2 separate regions of the Homo sapiens genome follow, and region 1 is linked to region 2. The links are contacts of gene promoters, found by promoter capture Hi-C in human tissues and cell types (Jung and others, 2019). All regions are on one chromosome and are shown on one strand. The core of a region is centred on a gene start or on the middle of the fragment in contact, and the rest is flanking DNA. Distances in the headings are between cores, read along the strand shown. Region 1 overlaps GOLGA8B (golgin A8 family member B). Region 2 holds the start of EMC4 (ER membrane protein complex subunit 4).

Region 1 (3,157 bases), core at 496-2,995, 350 kb before region 2:
ATTTTCATCTCTAGTTGTCTGGAAACGGAAACACTCCAACATTTAAAGATGGTTTTCATGGCGAAACCACTGGAATGAAACACGCATCATCGGGCAATTCTGTGTGTTGAGTTCCATCCCTCTTTGTTTGTCATTTTAAATAATTTCCCTACAAATCCAGAAGGCAGGTCTTGTCTTAACTTCGCGACGAGGAGGCTGGGGACAGGTAGCTGAGCTATGGGTTGCCTAAGAGCACTCTGCTGTGACGGGGCAGTGCTGGCCTTTGAGCCTGAGCTGGAGAGAGTGTGAGGCCCATGTTTTCTCTCTGTCTCCTGCTGGGGCCCATTTTGTATCAGATTTGTTTTTAACGGGGTGGGCATGACTAGGACTTATGACCATTGGTGGGCAAGTACAGGGGCTAATTTTCAACACGTGCTGAGAGACTGATGGCTGGCATCGGAGAGTTATGGAAATGCCACAGATGACGTGAGCTCTTCACAGCGATGGGGAAAGGGCGTGGGAGCTTGCCCTCCAGGAAGGTGGCTAACATGGTTGGTGGGACACTAAGGTGTTTTCCATTTTGCACTTGAAGCCAACATGGATTCTTAGCACTTCTTGTCCCTAGAATCAACTGTGCAGAGAGACGCTTGGTTGTGAAACTCTCAGGCAAAGACAGTTCTGAGGAAACTTACTAGTAAATAGTGAGTCAGAGAACACTACTGACATTTAGGATTTTCAGTTGAGATACATATGTACTGTCATGCATCACATGACATTGTTTTTGTGAGTGATAGCGTATATGACAGAGGTCCCATAAGAATATCATGGGGCTCAAAAATTCCTATTGCCTAGTGACATTGTCGTAAAGTTGTAGTGCAGTTACTTTATTTTTTAAAAAAATGTAGCCTAACTGTACAATGTTTATAAAGTCTGCACTAGTGTACAGACTGACTCACCGGAGCAACTTCCATTCATGGAAGGTCCATTCATAGAAAGTGCCCTAGACAGGGGCACCATGTTTTATCTTTTATAGCATATTTTAACTTTGTGCCTTTTCTATGTTTAGATACACACCTTCAGCACAGTAACATGCTGCCTAGGTTTGCAGCCTAGGAGCAGTAGGCTGTACCCTATAACCTAGTGTGTTGTAGTAGGTTTGTATAATGTATGCTCTATGATGTTCTCATAATGATGAAATTGCCTAATGATAAATTTCTCAGAATACATCCCTGTCATTAAGTGACGCATCTGTGTGTGTGTGTGTGTGTGTGTGTGTGTGTGTGTGTGTGTGTGTGTGTGTGTATGATATATAATTTTTTTCATTTGGTTGGTTTGGCATTCCTGGAATTGATTCTCCAGCAAGGCAGCTCTAAATATGGATTCCTCTGAACTGTTGTATGTGTTCTTAATTTAATAAACAAGTATCGTTTATGGTTTCCCGCAGTTGGTTTGATTATCAGCTGTCTTGGAAAAATCTATTGTTTCAAAAATAGTAAAGCCACTAGTTGAGTAACCGCATGCATTTAGGGATGATGGATTTCTCAGGTCTCTCTGGAAGCAAGTGTGTGCATTGTGCAATTAAAACACAGTTTCTGTTTCTCAGTCTTTTGGTGTAATAAGTGAGCCATGTGCTCTAGCATCTGTCTGAATTATCCGGAGCTGGTGGCAGCTGTCACGGGTGTGGTGCAGTGGGGCCAGGCATGTGTTAGGAACTGGAAGCTCTGGGAAGCCAGGCTCTGCCTGCACGTGTGAGCCAGCTGTAGAGCGTCACTGCTCAGAGTTTGTCTTGACTCATCCCAAGAAGGGCACGTGGAGGTCTGTGTCCCATTCCTCACCAGCCACTGAGTTATTATGGATGGAGGAGATGAGATGTGTGCAACTGTTCTGCTACAGGAAAGCAGTCAGTCAGTGCAGTCACCAGGGTTAGGATGTGTGAGTGTTTTACCAACCTGCCTGCTGGGTTTCAGACACTTGGCACTACCTCCAGCCTCTAACTGATTCTGGCTGGTACGCGTGAAAGCTGTCAGCTGAGTGATGAATGGACCGATTTTGGCCACAGGTCCCTGCACTTCCCACCTGGCCTGACTGCTAGATTCTGAGCCCCTGAGGCAGGACTGAATGGGTCACATTGATGGTTGATTCTCTCGGGAATGGCATTGGGTGAAATCGAGGTTTTCCTGACCCACAGCTCCTACTAGAAGTGCCTTTCTTTTGTGCATGTATTGTGAAGATTCTGCCTGTGAACTTTCTCTACCCTTTGAGTCCTAAGGTTCAGGTACCTGGAGAGGAGCATGTCATCGTTTTGCAGGTGGGATGTGTGGTTGTTGGGGAAGACGTCTTTGTGCTGTGTTGGGTTGGAAGCTTTGAGAGCAGAAGCCCCTCCAGACCAAGAACTCCTGATTGTGTCTTTCCCTTGGGCTTTCGCAGTTTTCAGCTTCTAAATTAATTGCATTTTATTAAGTAATGGTTTTCTTCTTGATCACAGGCGTGCCTGTGCTTAATCAGCACTGAGGACTGGTGCTACTTCAGTTGATTTGATACACCTAGAGGCAGCCTCATCTCCAACTTGTCTTGACTTCATTTGGGGAGCTGCCGTGGGGGACCCCTGGACTGGCAGCATTCCCACCCCTCACTTTGGCAACCCTGGCCTAACTCCTTGTATGTGTTGCTCCTTTTATCCATCACATAGGGTGGCTTAATCTAATAGTGGAAACAAAGGGGTGCGGGACGCTAACCTGGTAGGTCTCACCTTGCCCGTCCCGTCATTCACCTCTCAGTCCTTTGACACTCAGGGACTCTGCAGTGGTACAACCGGGAGCAGGTACCCTTCACTTTTCTTACCCCCGAGTCCCTTTGCCTGGAGCACTGTCCATCTATCCACCCATGCACTCAGTAGGTATTTTCCAAGCAGCTACTATATTCCAGCTTTCTTGTTCCCAGTTTAGAGCTGGGTGGGATCAGGAGGGAGGGCATGGAAGGGGTTGCTGGAGAATGTGCAATGGCATCAGAGCCCCATTCTGGCTCTGGGTCCAAGGCCCTCCTAGAGAGGCACAATCTGGAAGATGTGAGAGCCCCACGGTAGGTTGGGGTGGATCATGGACCCCATCCTAGAAGAGTGGGTGGGTTTGCCCCTTCAGAGCCCAGGCCAGAAGAGCCCTCTCGGCAGAAGGGCCAGCCT
Region 2 (3,307 bases), core at 121-2,620:
TGATGAAGAAAGGAGAGGAGACAAAATATTCAATATCAGGAATGAAAAAATGAACATCACAGATCTTGCATATATGGAAGTGATCATATTATGAACAACTTTATATCAATACATTTGAAATTTTAGGAAATGGATAAGTTTCTAGAAAAAATGTAACAAAATGACAGGAGAAATTAGAAATATAAATAGCCCCGGGCCGAGCGCGGTGGCTCATGCCTGCAATCCCAGCACTTTGGAAGGCCAAGGCGGATGGATCACCTGAGGTCAGGAGTTCAAGACCAGCCTGGCAAACATGGTGATACCCTGTCTGTACTAAAAATACAAAAATTAGCCGGGCTACTGCAGAAATCTAGATGAAGGATGGTGGCTTGGATTAGGATGAGAGGTGAACACAGGAAAAAGTAGTAGGTAAAGCCAACAGAGTATCCTGACAGTTGGATATGTGGTGTAAGGGAACCAGAGTAGAAAAAGGATCACTTCAACTGGAAGATGTTGCCACCAAAAGATAGTTTTCAACCTACTTTCTTATACCTTATGTTCCAAACATCTTCTATTTTTCAAATTATTAAGCACTTTTGTAGCTGATATATAAAATACCGAAATACCAGCCTCAAGCAGTTTAGTTTCCAAATCTTCAGGATAAGAGCTATCTACGTTAACTCCACCTAGGAGAAGAGGATGAGTGTGTAACTCAGGACTGGCCCATGGGCTACGGTAACATCTATACCTCTGTACCTTCTCCACCAGGATCCGGTCTGTCTCTTGCACGCTGGTATCAGGCACTTGCTTGTCCAAGTAACCGACTGGGTAGAGCGAGTCTCCCTGGCCACTGCCCCGGTCACTTCGACCCCTAAAAAACCAAACCAAGAAACTAAAGCTGCAACCTCCGATACTTCTTATCCCACATTTCCTGATCTACCAATCATAGGAATAAAGATCTTCAGATGCACCTACTCAGATTAGACCAAGCCCCCTCGTATGTTCCTCAGTCCTTTGACTTATCAGGAGGACTGATGTAAGCATTGTTTGAGCAGAGAAACTTCCACGGCAGAAAAGCCGCTACCTCCCCAGGTGATGTCTGTGTGCCACCCATCTTTTTCAGAGTTATGCCTGAGGGCTCAGGTCTCATTACTCTGGTGCAGTTCTGGGATGAACAGTGATGTACAGCTTGCCCAGGTGCCTCACCTGCTGCCTCCTCCAGGCCCGCTTAGCTCAATGGCCCACTTGAAGCGCCGGCCTCGGTTAGCCACCAGGCCCCCCTGGGCCGTCATGGCAACAGCTGCGTCCTATAGCCTCGATGCTTCTCAGTCCAAAGCGTACTCCACAACAGGCCCACCAGCGTTCTCCGCTTTGTCTCACTCTGCAAATGCACTTCCGGCGCGTGAATACGACGTCATTTCCGCCCTGGAAATTGGTGGTGCTGTGGGTTGAGGAGTCCGGGTTTGGATTTAGAAAAGCAGGGAGGAAAAAAAACCAGGCAAGACTTAGTGCTTCCTAAAGCCACTTCCGCGCGCTCCCCTTTTGAATGTCCTTGTTATGTGTTCCCTGACCTCTGAGGTGCACTTTATGGGGCTGAAGGAAAGCCCATACTGACTCAGCGTTAAGAATTGGTGGGCGGATCACCTGAAGTCAGGAGTTCGAGACCAGCCTGGCTAACATGGTGAAACCCCGTCTCTACTAAAAATACAAAATATTAGCCGGGCTTAGTGGCGGGCGCCTGTAATCCCAGCTACTTAGGAGGCTGAGGCAGGAGAATCGCTTGGATCCGGGAGCCGGAGGTTGCAGTGAACTGAGACCGAGCGATTGCACGCCAGCCTGGGCAGCAAGAGCGAAACTCTGTCTCAAAAAAAAAAAAAAGGAAGCCAAGAAAAGCTTCTTAACCTCCTACGCGCTCCCTGGAACAAAAGATTCAAATCCTGGGTTTAAATCCTAGCTTGACCTTGAGCGAGTTACTTAGTAGTTTCTGAGTATTGAATGTCCACTGTGTCATGTGTTTATTTCATTTCACTTGCACAGTAACCTTGCGAGGTAAACAGTTCTAACCACATTCTGCACAAAGGCAAGGCAGCATTGTGGGCATGGAAGGGGACATGGGCTCGGTATTCAGTTAGCCTGCGTTTGTTGTTGTTTGTTTTGGGTTTGTTTTTTGAGACAGGGTTTCACTCCGTTGCCGAGGCTGTAGTGCAGTGGCGCTATCACGGCTCACTGCAGCCTCGACTTCCCCGGCTCAAGCGATCTTCCCACCTGAGCGTTCCTTCCAACCTGAGCGTTCCGAGGAGCTAGGACCACAGGGCGCGCCACCACGCCCCAGTCTTGTTTTGTTTTGTTTTGTTTTGTTTTGACAGGGTTTCGCTATGTTGCTCAGGCTGCTCTCAAACTCTTGGGTTCAAGTGATTCTCCTGCCTTGGCCTCCCAAAATGTTGAGATTACAAAGGCATGGGCCACTGCACCCAGCAGATGGCCTCCTTTTGAATCCTGGTTTCACCACTTAATAATTGTATGACCTTGGGCAAGTTGAATTTGTTTCAGCCTCTTCATGTAAAAGTTGGATAATCTACCTACTTTCAAGGCTTGTGAGATTAGTGCCCACCACATATCTGGTGTTTGGTTTGTTTGTGTTTTTGTTCGAGACGGAGTTTTGCTTTTGTTGCCCAGGCTGGAGTGCAATGGCACTATCTCGGCTCACTGCAACCTCCGTCTCCCGGGTTCAAGCAATTCTCCTGCCTCAGCCTCCCGAGTACCAGGGATTACAGGCGCACGCCACCACGTCCAGCTAATTTTGTATTTTTAGTAGAGATGGGATTTCACCGTGTTGGTCAGGCTGGTTTCGAACTCCCGACCTCAGGTGATCTGCCTGCCTCGGCCTCCCAAAGTGCTAGGTTATGTGGTGTTTTTAATGATGTATCACATCATTACCAAATAACACCATTGATGTGTTTTTAATGACGTGTCATTAAATAATGTATGTCATTCTTTAAAGTGATTGGGTTTTGTATGGTATACCTTTTTCATAATATAGCCTATTATTGGACATTTAAATTGTTTCCTGTTTTCCTTCCTTTTATAACCAGTGTTGCTGTGAACATATCTGTATGTCTTTTCTTATTTCCTAAAGTTATAGTCCTAGAAGTGAAATTGGAGTTGCTGGATCAAAGAGTATGCACATTTTTAAAGAATTTTCATTTTAAATGCCCACAGGAGCCAGGCGTGGTGGCTCACACCTGTCATCCCAGAACTTTGGGAGGCTGAGGCAGGAGGATTGCTTTAGCTCAGAAGTTCAAGACCAGCCTAGGCAACATAGTGAGAC

The links. The method cuts DNA at HindIII sites, captures the fragments that hold promoters and counts their contacts. A contact is called where the count stands out against the background at its distance.
Region 1: a fragment that was not itself captured here is called in contact with the fragment with the promoter of EMC4 in region 2 in 1 of the 25 tissues and cell types used here (lymphoblastoid cells).

Annotation. Positions count from the first base shown.
Region 1 is chr15:34,575,632-34,578,788 of GRCh38, reverse strand. The region is part of intron 1 of GOLGA8B (golgin A8 family member B); the gene reads left to right. Among named protein-coding and RNA genes, the nearest start is that of GOLGA8B, 6.4 kb to the left of the region's middle. The HindIII fragment of the contact is 3,792 bases long and covers 1-3,157 here.
Region 2 is chr15:34,223,079-34,226,385 of GRCh38, reverse strand. EMC4 (ER membrane protein complex subunit 4) reads right to left here and starts at 1,370. Exons shown (of 5, transcript NM_016454.4): 1 at 1,186-1,370; 2 at 736-850. The coding sequence starts at 1,271. RefSeq lists an enhancer at 1,007-1,056. The HindIII fragment of the contact is 15,250 bases long and covers 1-2,830 here.